3 separate regions of the Homo sapiens genome follow, and all the other regions are linked to region 3. Evidence: promoter capture Hi-C in human tissues and cell types (Jung and others, 2019). All regions are on one chromosome and are shown on one strand. Each heading gives the region's core, a stretch centred on a gene start or on the middle of the fragment in contact. The rest is flanking DNA. Distances are from core to core; before and after follow the strand shown.

Region 1 (2,864 bases), core at 242-2,741, 36 kb before region 3:
CAGCATTTCCAGGATGCATACATAATTTTGTTGACGTTTAGAGAAATAGGAAAATCACACATTCCAACAAGGGAAGTTTAAACAATTCAACATTAAAATACAAATACTCAAACAGCGCTAATACATTTTAGCTGAACAATGTACTTTGCATGGTGTTTGGAATATGGTTTGGAAACAAGTTTATTTCTCCATTTGGGAGATAAAGCAAAGCTCTATTTATAATCAAAAGTAAAAACAAAAATCAGTTTTCCGAAATCTATCAAGTATGTATTCAGTGTAGGTTAAACATTGGTTGACTTATTTACTGTGGAATGGAATATAATAGTTGGAAGGCACCTTTGACACGGTCTGGGTTACAGACTGTGGTGTTATGATATGTGTTGGTTTTCATCCAGGGTTCCTAGTTCATAACTCCCATCTCCCTTTACAGTATTTTGTTATAATGTTGGGTGTGTTAGGCCTCAGGAGCAGGCTTCAGGAAACAGAATCTCTCTCCTGCCATCCTTCCACCTGACCCAAGGCAGGACTTTAATCTTTCTCCACCTTTATGATTGTGAGTCTTAAGACCCTTCCCAGAGAGAGTCCCACCTTATACTCCAGGGGGTGGGGGTAAGGAATGCTAATGTCATGAAGCTTCCATAAAAACCCAAACGAGGCCGGGCGCAGTGGATCATGCCTGTAATCCTAGCACTTTGGAAGGCCAAGATGGGCAGCTCACCTGAGGTCAGGAGTTTGAGATCAGCCTGGCCAACATGGTAAAATCCCATCTCTACTAAAATTACAAAAATTAGCTAGGGGTGGTGGCACATGTCTGTAACCCTAGCTATTCGGGAGCCTGAGGCAGGAGAACCCCTTGAACCCAGGAGGCAGAAATTGCAGTGAATAAAAGAAAAACCCAAACAAACTGGGTTTGAAGAGCTTCCAGATTGCTCCTGGAGTGGGGAGAACCCAGGGAGGGCAAGGAAGCTCCCTACCCTTTCCACCATATTTTGCCCTACACATCTCTTCATCTGTATCTTCGCAGTATCCTTTACAATAAGCCAGTAAACATAAGTAAGTGTTTCCCTGGGCTCTGTGAGCCGCTCCAGCAAATTATTCGAACCCAAAGAGGGGGTTGTAGGAACCTCAACCTGAAGTCAGTTGGTCAGAAGTTCCAGAAGCCTTGATTTGAGACTGGTGTCGTAGGTGGGGTGGGAGTCAGTCTTGGGGACTGAGCCCCCAACCTGTGAGATCTGATGCTATCTCCAGGTCGATAGTGCCAGCATTGAATTGGAGGACAACCAGCTGGCATGCACTGCTTGATGGTGGGGAGAAACCCCCGTGGATTTAGTCATAGAAGTCTTCTGTGTAGGTGATTGTTGTGGTGTTGGTGTGAGAATACAGGAAAACCCGTGTTAGATGGTTATTCTCCAGCCACAAACCTTATATAACTTTCTTAAGATCACACAAATAGGAAGTGGTAAAAGAAGGATTTAAAAAAGATCTTAAAATGGCATAAAACTGTACTCTTGTCACTGGATAATATTGCCTCTCTGGCAATTTGACCAAATCACAGCTAAATTTACACTTAGAGGATAAATCTACATTTCATATTTGTTCTCATTGTGTTCTGATAGGCTTGAAATGTCAAGCACAATTTCATTTAACTTGAATTTAATTTCAAACTTAGAACATAAAAAATTATATAAGCTTCAGAATAACAAAGCCTCTTTTAACAGTCTTCTATTCAAAGGGGAAGCAAACTAAATGGTTACACTTTTTCAGTGAATTAATATATAGCATCCAATGTATGGCCATTCAAAATCAGTTCCCAGGCCTGGCACGGTTACAGGCTCATGCCTGTAATCCCATCAGTTTGGGAGGCCAAGCCAGGCAGATCACCTGAGGTCAGGAGTTCAAGACCAGCCTGGCCAATATGGTGAGACCCCGTCTCTATGAAATATACAAAAACTAGCCAGGCATGTTGGTGCATGCCTGTAGTCCCAGCTACTCTGGAGACTGAGGCAGGAGAATCACTTGAACCTGGGAGGCAGTAATACTGCCCAGATCACGCCATTGCACTCCAAACTGGGTGACAGAGCAAGACTCTGTCTCAAAAAACAAAAACAAAGACAAAAACAAATCATTTCCCAAACTACCTTTTTCATTTTATCCAGGGCCAATAACGCTCATATATTTCACAGTGAATTCATTTGGAATACTTGAACACATCATACACTTCAAGGTTGGAAAATACTTTCACCTATTTCAGTCCTTTTTATATTTCAACTATTTTTTCATTGATCTGTTAGGTCAATTTTCTAAATTTATTCTTTTTCATGTATTTCCATGATATTTATTAACAACCTATCAAAAAACTATATCCCAAATTATACATTTATGCCAAGATACAAACAAAGAACACATGAAAAGTAAAAACTTTAAGTAGCCGTAAGCATAAATAATGTTCAGTCTTATTAGTAAACAAAGGAATGAAAATTGTAGCACAAAAACACCAGTTTTTACCTACACAAGTGGAAGAAAATTTTAAGTCGTTATGTTGATAAGAATGCAGAGAAACCAGTGATGATACTCTTAAATAATACTGGTCAGAGTGTACACCGTCATCTCTTTTTTGGAAAGCAAATAAGTAATATGTGTCAAAAGCTTTAAAATATTTTGCCATCATTCATAATTATTTTTGGAAAAATAAATAATGAGAAACCAATCATGATATATTGAAAGGTTCCAAAAAGGTTTAAAAATATCCAGAAACAAAAACAAAAACAAAACAAAACCCAGAGAAACATTATTATCCATCATGTTTTTAGATGGTTAAGTAGTTAGAAGACAAGCACTGGCTTAGGTGCTAGGGATAAAATATG
Region 2 (2,708 bases), core at 188-2,687, 41 kb after region 3:
AAAACAAAATTAGCTGGACGTGGTGGCGGGCGCCTGTAGTCCCAGCTACTCTGGAGGCTGAGGCAGGAGAATGGCGTGAACCCGGAGGGCCGAGGTTGCAGTGAGCTGAGATCGCACCACTGCACTCCAGCCTGGGCGACAGAGCGAGACTCTGTCTCAGAAAAAAAACAAACAAAAAAAGGAGTGACCTAAAAGAAGCTTTTGAGTATGTTTTGATAGAGTCTCCAGCCAGCGTTCAGTATTATTTTGGCTGCTCTCTGGCTGTTCAAGGGCTCATTTTTCAATAGATTATCTCATTAAAGAGACTTTTATCTATCTCATCCTCTGCCCAGAAGAAGCCATTATGCTTTCCGGTTCTAGTCCTTTAAGAACAGAGGAAGGGAGGTACACTTCACTATCAATCTGGGCCCAACCAGTTATACTGGGAATTTTATATTCATTACCTAGAGAAGAGGAGAGAATGGAGAAAGAAAGTTGCTAAAAATTACTGGTGGTCAGGCTTACTGTGTGGATTTTACAGAATTACAAGGGTTCTGAAGCAGGCCATAAATGGGTTGGATGATACTACTAAATTTTTTACACCTACCCTCAGTCTAGAAACAGCATCTTGATGGAGTTGCATATAAATTCTAATTCTGTGTTTCTTAAATTCAATGTAATAGCTATCTCTAAATTTAATTAGAGGCGTCATTTCAAAAGTTCACTTGTGTAAGCTTCTCAGATATCATACTAGTACCAATGTATTGTCTTTATTATCTGTTAAAAGCATTTACTTCAAAAGACATAAGACATATAATTTTAAGTGTTGTTATGGATATATTTTCTGAACTCATCTGAATACTCTACCTAGATTAGTGTATTTTTTGTTGACAGATTATCAAGAATTTGAAAGCTCATGGTGTAACTGTGCCTGGAACACATTATATATCCAATAAGCACTTTTTACTGTTATATTATAAAACACTATGTTGCTGCTTTCTTTTCACCTTTCTTCAGTTTTTTTTTTTCTTTCAAAATCTGATACAATTTAGTTAAAAAAAAATCTTTTACCTGTTGCCTCTTTTTCAAACTTGAGACACTGGTCCAAAATAAAATGTAAGTTATATGTCTCTTGCTGAAAACAAACTCAATTTCTGCAGTATTATTTGCTCATGACTTGGGTTCTGACCACTGGCTATGATTGACCACATAACCAGATGAAATAGTTCCAGTAGCTTTAGAGTTTTCTTGCAGGGTTTCAGCTCTTCTTGTCTGTTTTGGTTAAACCACTAGGAATGTCCTCAAGTCTTCAGTTGAGTGAGCAAACGTTCATCTACAAGGATAGTTTACTCTCCACTTTCCATATTTTCTAAGAAAACATGGAGACTTTGATTCTGAGAAACTTTGTGAGAATCTTTATAGTGCAACTAAGCATTAACCTATCTTCCCTCTTTCCCCTGCACACCAGGATGGCCACATCTCTCTTTCTGGGATCTCTCTGGAAAATATCTTGGGTCTTAATTACTTCTACTAACTGTGGACTATTCTCAGACTCTCCACAGTATTCTGAGAATGAACTAGAATTCCTCTGAAACTTAGCTGACCCCTATGAATGGGCAAGTTTTCCCCGTGGCATTTCAGTTTTAAATACAGAGGAAATTAAGTTGTTCCCTGTGCAGCACTTCATTGTTAAACTGTAACAGATTTTTTTTTCTTGTACAATAAATGTAGGTCCAGATTTAAAGAACACAGGCTGCTGGAGACCTTGGTATGGAATAGGTTGAATTTAAAATCTGTCTGACATTGACAAAATTGCAATGATTTTTTTTAATAGCAAATAAAATCTGTAACATAGTACCTCTGGGATTTTAAGCAAAGTCAGTCCTAAGAGCTGTATTCTTCCTTAATTTACATTTTAAGTGCTCATCAAGGTAGAAGGCAATGAATTCAGAAGACAGAGCCTATAATAATTTTCCCTTCTCTTGAACCAGGGAAAGATCTTCAAGGTCATATAATGTATTATGATTTTCAAACTTTTAAAACATCACTTTTCCACATTACACTACGCAAACTTAGGTGTAGCTTACGTACAAAGTAAGGCAATAGGCCTTTTATGCCACACACATATGAAATGTGCAATAAAGTACATAAAGAGTGTTTAGGAGAAAAAGTTTTAATTTGCATGATAACATCCATTTGCTACCTACTTTGAGAAGTAATAGAATATGTTTTCTTAACTTTCAGCTTATATTACTATGACATACAGATGTTGTTCCTTAAATTTTTATTGAAGATAGTATTGAAAATAAATTTAAAAAAACAAAAATTCAACATTGTCAGTCTGATTATTTCTGTTTTCAGAAATTTAACATAACAAACTTGTAGTTTTAAGAGAGCAGGTGAGAAAAGGAAGGTGGAAAAAGAAACTACAAGACCATGACTAGGAAATGAAGTGAAATCATGAGAATATTGTTTGTGTTTGAAACTAAAGGGAGGAAAGATCAAGTACAGTAGTGACCTCCAAGCAAACAATTTAAGTGGATTAGTTAGTGGTAGAAGCGGGGAACAGTGGGTTGAGAATGTTAATGCAAGTGTTAAGAAAATCAGTTTATGAGCCCAGCCACAAGTAGAATGATGTCTTTTGACTTTTAACCTATTGTTCTTTCTACTATAGTATGTTGCTGCTATTAAAAGTACTTTTTCTGAATTGGTACAGTTTTGAGAAATAA
Region 3 (2,700 bases), core at 126-2,625:
AGTCCCTGAAAAATGCTTGTGAGTGGATCCAGTGCTAGATGATATCAGACTCCTGGCATATGATGACACATATCAGTGTGTATGCATTCTGATGGAAAGCAATGTGTGAAATGCTATGACATTATTTGAATAAACAACCTTTTTTATTAAACATGCTTTATCCAACTTAAGAAAATTTAAGCTTAGTTTTAGATACCCACTTCTCTGTCCAAGTAAGTCATGATAGCTGTAGGTGGGACATGTGCATGGAATGTGAATAATCACCCTTCTGGATGATTGATTGCTTCAGTTCACTGAAAGTGTTTGTTTACAAGTTTAAGCAGTCTGTGGAATTTGGCATGACAGGCCCCCTTTCTCTTGCCTTCAAGGAGGCTAGAGCTTCACTGGGACAAGAAATATCACAAATACTGAGAGAATTGCTAAAGGCTATGTAAAGCTTCCAGCATAGCCCATCTTTCATAGAAATATTGATATAGTAGACATAATAAATATTGCATAACCTTCATAATTTTGGCAGTGGAAGTTGAAGCTGATAACTTTCACTTTTTATTATTTAATTTTTTTCCCTCTGGAATCTCCAAGTCTATACAGTTTGAGGATTTGTTTAAATCATGAGAATGAATAAGGAAGGTTCTGTAGGTTTTATAGGAACGCATATGAAGTATAATATATACTATGGAGCACTCGTATTTTTTTTCCTTAAGATTCTGTTTAGAAATGATGGTTAGCGCTGCAAGCTTTCACGTTTTCTCTCAGTGCTCAGAATTTTTTTTTTTTTCTTCCAGGCAAGTTTCTGCAGCAGCGACTCCCTCCAGAGGCTCCGTGAACCGAGGGAAGGGAGTAGGAACACCAAATACGGATCCGTTCAAATAACCAAATGGCAGGGAGAGGCAGCAAAGTTTGGGCAGGAAGATGAAAAGGATTGGAGATGTTTTCAAGAATGGTTGAATAGATTCATTCTATTTCTCCGTCTCCTCCCCACCCGCCTCCCACTCGGTCCTCTCCGTGCTCCACTGCCCCCTCTCTCCGCCCCGTCTTCCTTCCAGAGCTGTGCCCGCAGCGATCTTAGAGTGCGCAGAAACGGCAGTCCCCGCGAAGGCAAAGGCTCCAGCACCGTCAAAGCGTTTAGTTTCTACTGGACTGGTTGAGAATACATCCTGAAGTCCAAAGATGCCCACGCTGACGTTAAGCCTGAATTTTGTTGCCCCGATTGCCGCAGCTGACTCTAGCAGAAGCCCAGTCAAGGGGGCGGCCCCTCACCTCTCGGCGAGTTGATATGCAAAATAGTTACGTCAGATGGTGGGGGCGGGGCACCCCCGGGTTGAGTGGCAGCAGCTCCTGCCTAGGGAGGAGGAGCGAGAATCAGCCTGGTTCAGTGACTGAGACAAACTGGAGGTGAAAGGAGCTGGTACTGTCCACTGTGCTGTCGGTGCTGAACCTGAGACGCGAGCGGACCAGTTGCTCCAGCACCTGAAGGCAACGCCCTCTTGCACCCTCTGTGCCCTGTGGGACCCGCTTCACCAACAGGACCCATATCAACTTGACAAAGGAGTGTGGTATCGGACGTGGGAGAGAGTCCTCTGTTTGCCACCTGGGCGCTCATTCAGGCGTGACTTTGGAGATTTCTATAGTTTTAGACCAAACTATTTTTTTTTCCCCAGCTAAGACGATCTTTTGAGAGTTTTTTTTTTTTATTGTGATTTATATTTCCACAGCGTTTAGGAATCTTTCTGGGGGACTTTTGTGACTGTTAAAATAAGGTAAGAAAAATAATATTGTTATAAATGATTACAAGTGGGGGAGAAATACAGACTGCCATACAAAAATTTAAAAACAAGTTATGCTTATTTTTATAATTTGAAACTGGACTTTTGGCAATGATTACAAAAATATTTTAATAATTACTATTATTATTATTATTATTATTATTATTATTACAAGACAATCTGTTAGTGATTATGCACTAAATTCTAGAGGGGAAGTTGAGAGCTTTGCTTTTTGTGAAGTTGATGTCATTATGTTATATCTTGCTTTATAAATATAAATATTTTAGAGCAATACTTTCAGCAGGGTTCAAAGGATAGGAACCATTCCAGGAAACCCCCCAAATATATTAGCAAATGATGTTAAATAAATCAACCAACAAGTTGTTTAGAACAAATATAATCAAATAATTATTTGAATGGACTAGTCTCTGGTTAATCATCAATATTATTCCTATATCTAAAGCATAGACTTCAAAGTGCAGAGCTCTCTTAACATTTTTTGGAAGGGAGGAGGTAGGTATAGAAACATTTACATCATGCTGGGTCCATTTAGATGTGTTGTTATGCAGTAGATCCAAATAAAACTTGTGAAACTCAGTCTCTGAGCATTCCACACCCCAAGGTCATGTGTATTTCCAAGTTGGGGGCTGTTTGTTCTGCTGTTGACTAGCAAATGTCATCCCCTTGCAACCCCCTCAGGTTAGAGGTGGATGTAAATGGGAAGTTCTGATTTAATAATACAGTATTCGCTTGTATTATAGTCGCTTGTGCTGTTGGTAATTGAATGGAACTGGGAAGTGTGGGCTGAGAAAATGTCTCACTATTTCAGCAATGTTTAACCTCTTGCATGCTTAACAGAGAGCTTTTCTTTACTTAGAAGAATTTTCTTTTGAAGCTATGTTCCTTTTATCAATTGGCAGTGTGTTCTGAGTGT

What was found. Contacts are between HindIII fragments. The study calls those that stand out against the background at their distance.
Region 1: a contact is called between a fragment that was not itself captured here and the fragment with the promoter of FSTL5 in region 3, in 3 of the 25 tissues and cell types used here (aorta, hippocampus and pancreas).
Region 2: a contact is called between a fragment that was not itself captured here and the fragment with the promoter of FSTL5 in region 3, in 1 of the 25 tissues and cell types used here (hippocampus).

Annotation. Positions count from the first base shown.
Region 1 is chr4:162,198,709-162,201,572 of GRCh38, reverse strand. No RefSeq gene overlaps it. Among named protein-coding and RNA genes, the nearest start is that of FSTL5, 36 kb to the right of the region's middle. The HindIII fragment of the contact is 4,012 bases long and covers 1-2,864 here.
Region 2 is chr4:162,122,168-162,124,875 of GRCh38, reverse strand. The region is part of intron 1 of FSTL5 (follistatin like 5); the gene reads left to right. Among named protein-coding and RNA genes, the nearest start is that of FSTL5, 40 kb to the left of the region's middle. The HindIII fragment of the contact is 3,838 bases long and covers 1-2,708 here.
Region 3 is chr4:162,162,675-162,165,374 of GRCh38, reverse strand. It overlaps FSTL5 (follistatin like 5), which reads left to right and starts at 1,375. Exons shown (of 16, transcript NM_020116.5): 1 at 1,375-1,760. RefSeq lists an enhancer at 1,112-1,221. The HindIII fragment of the contact is 23,396 bases long and covers 1-2,700 here.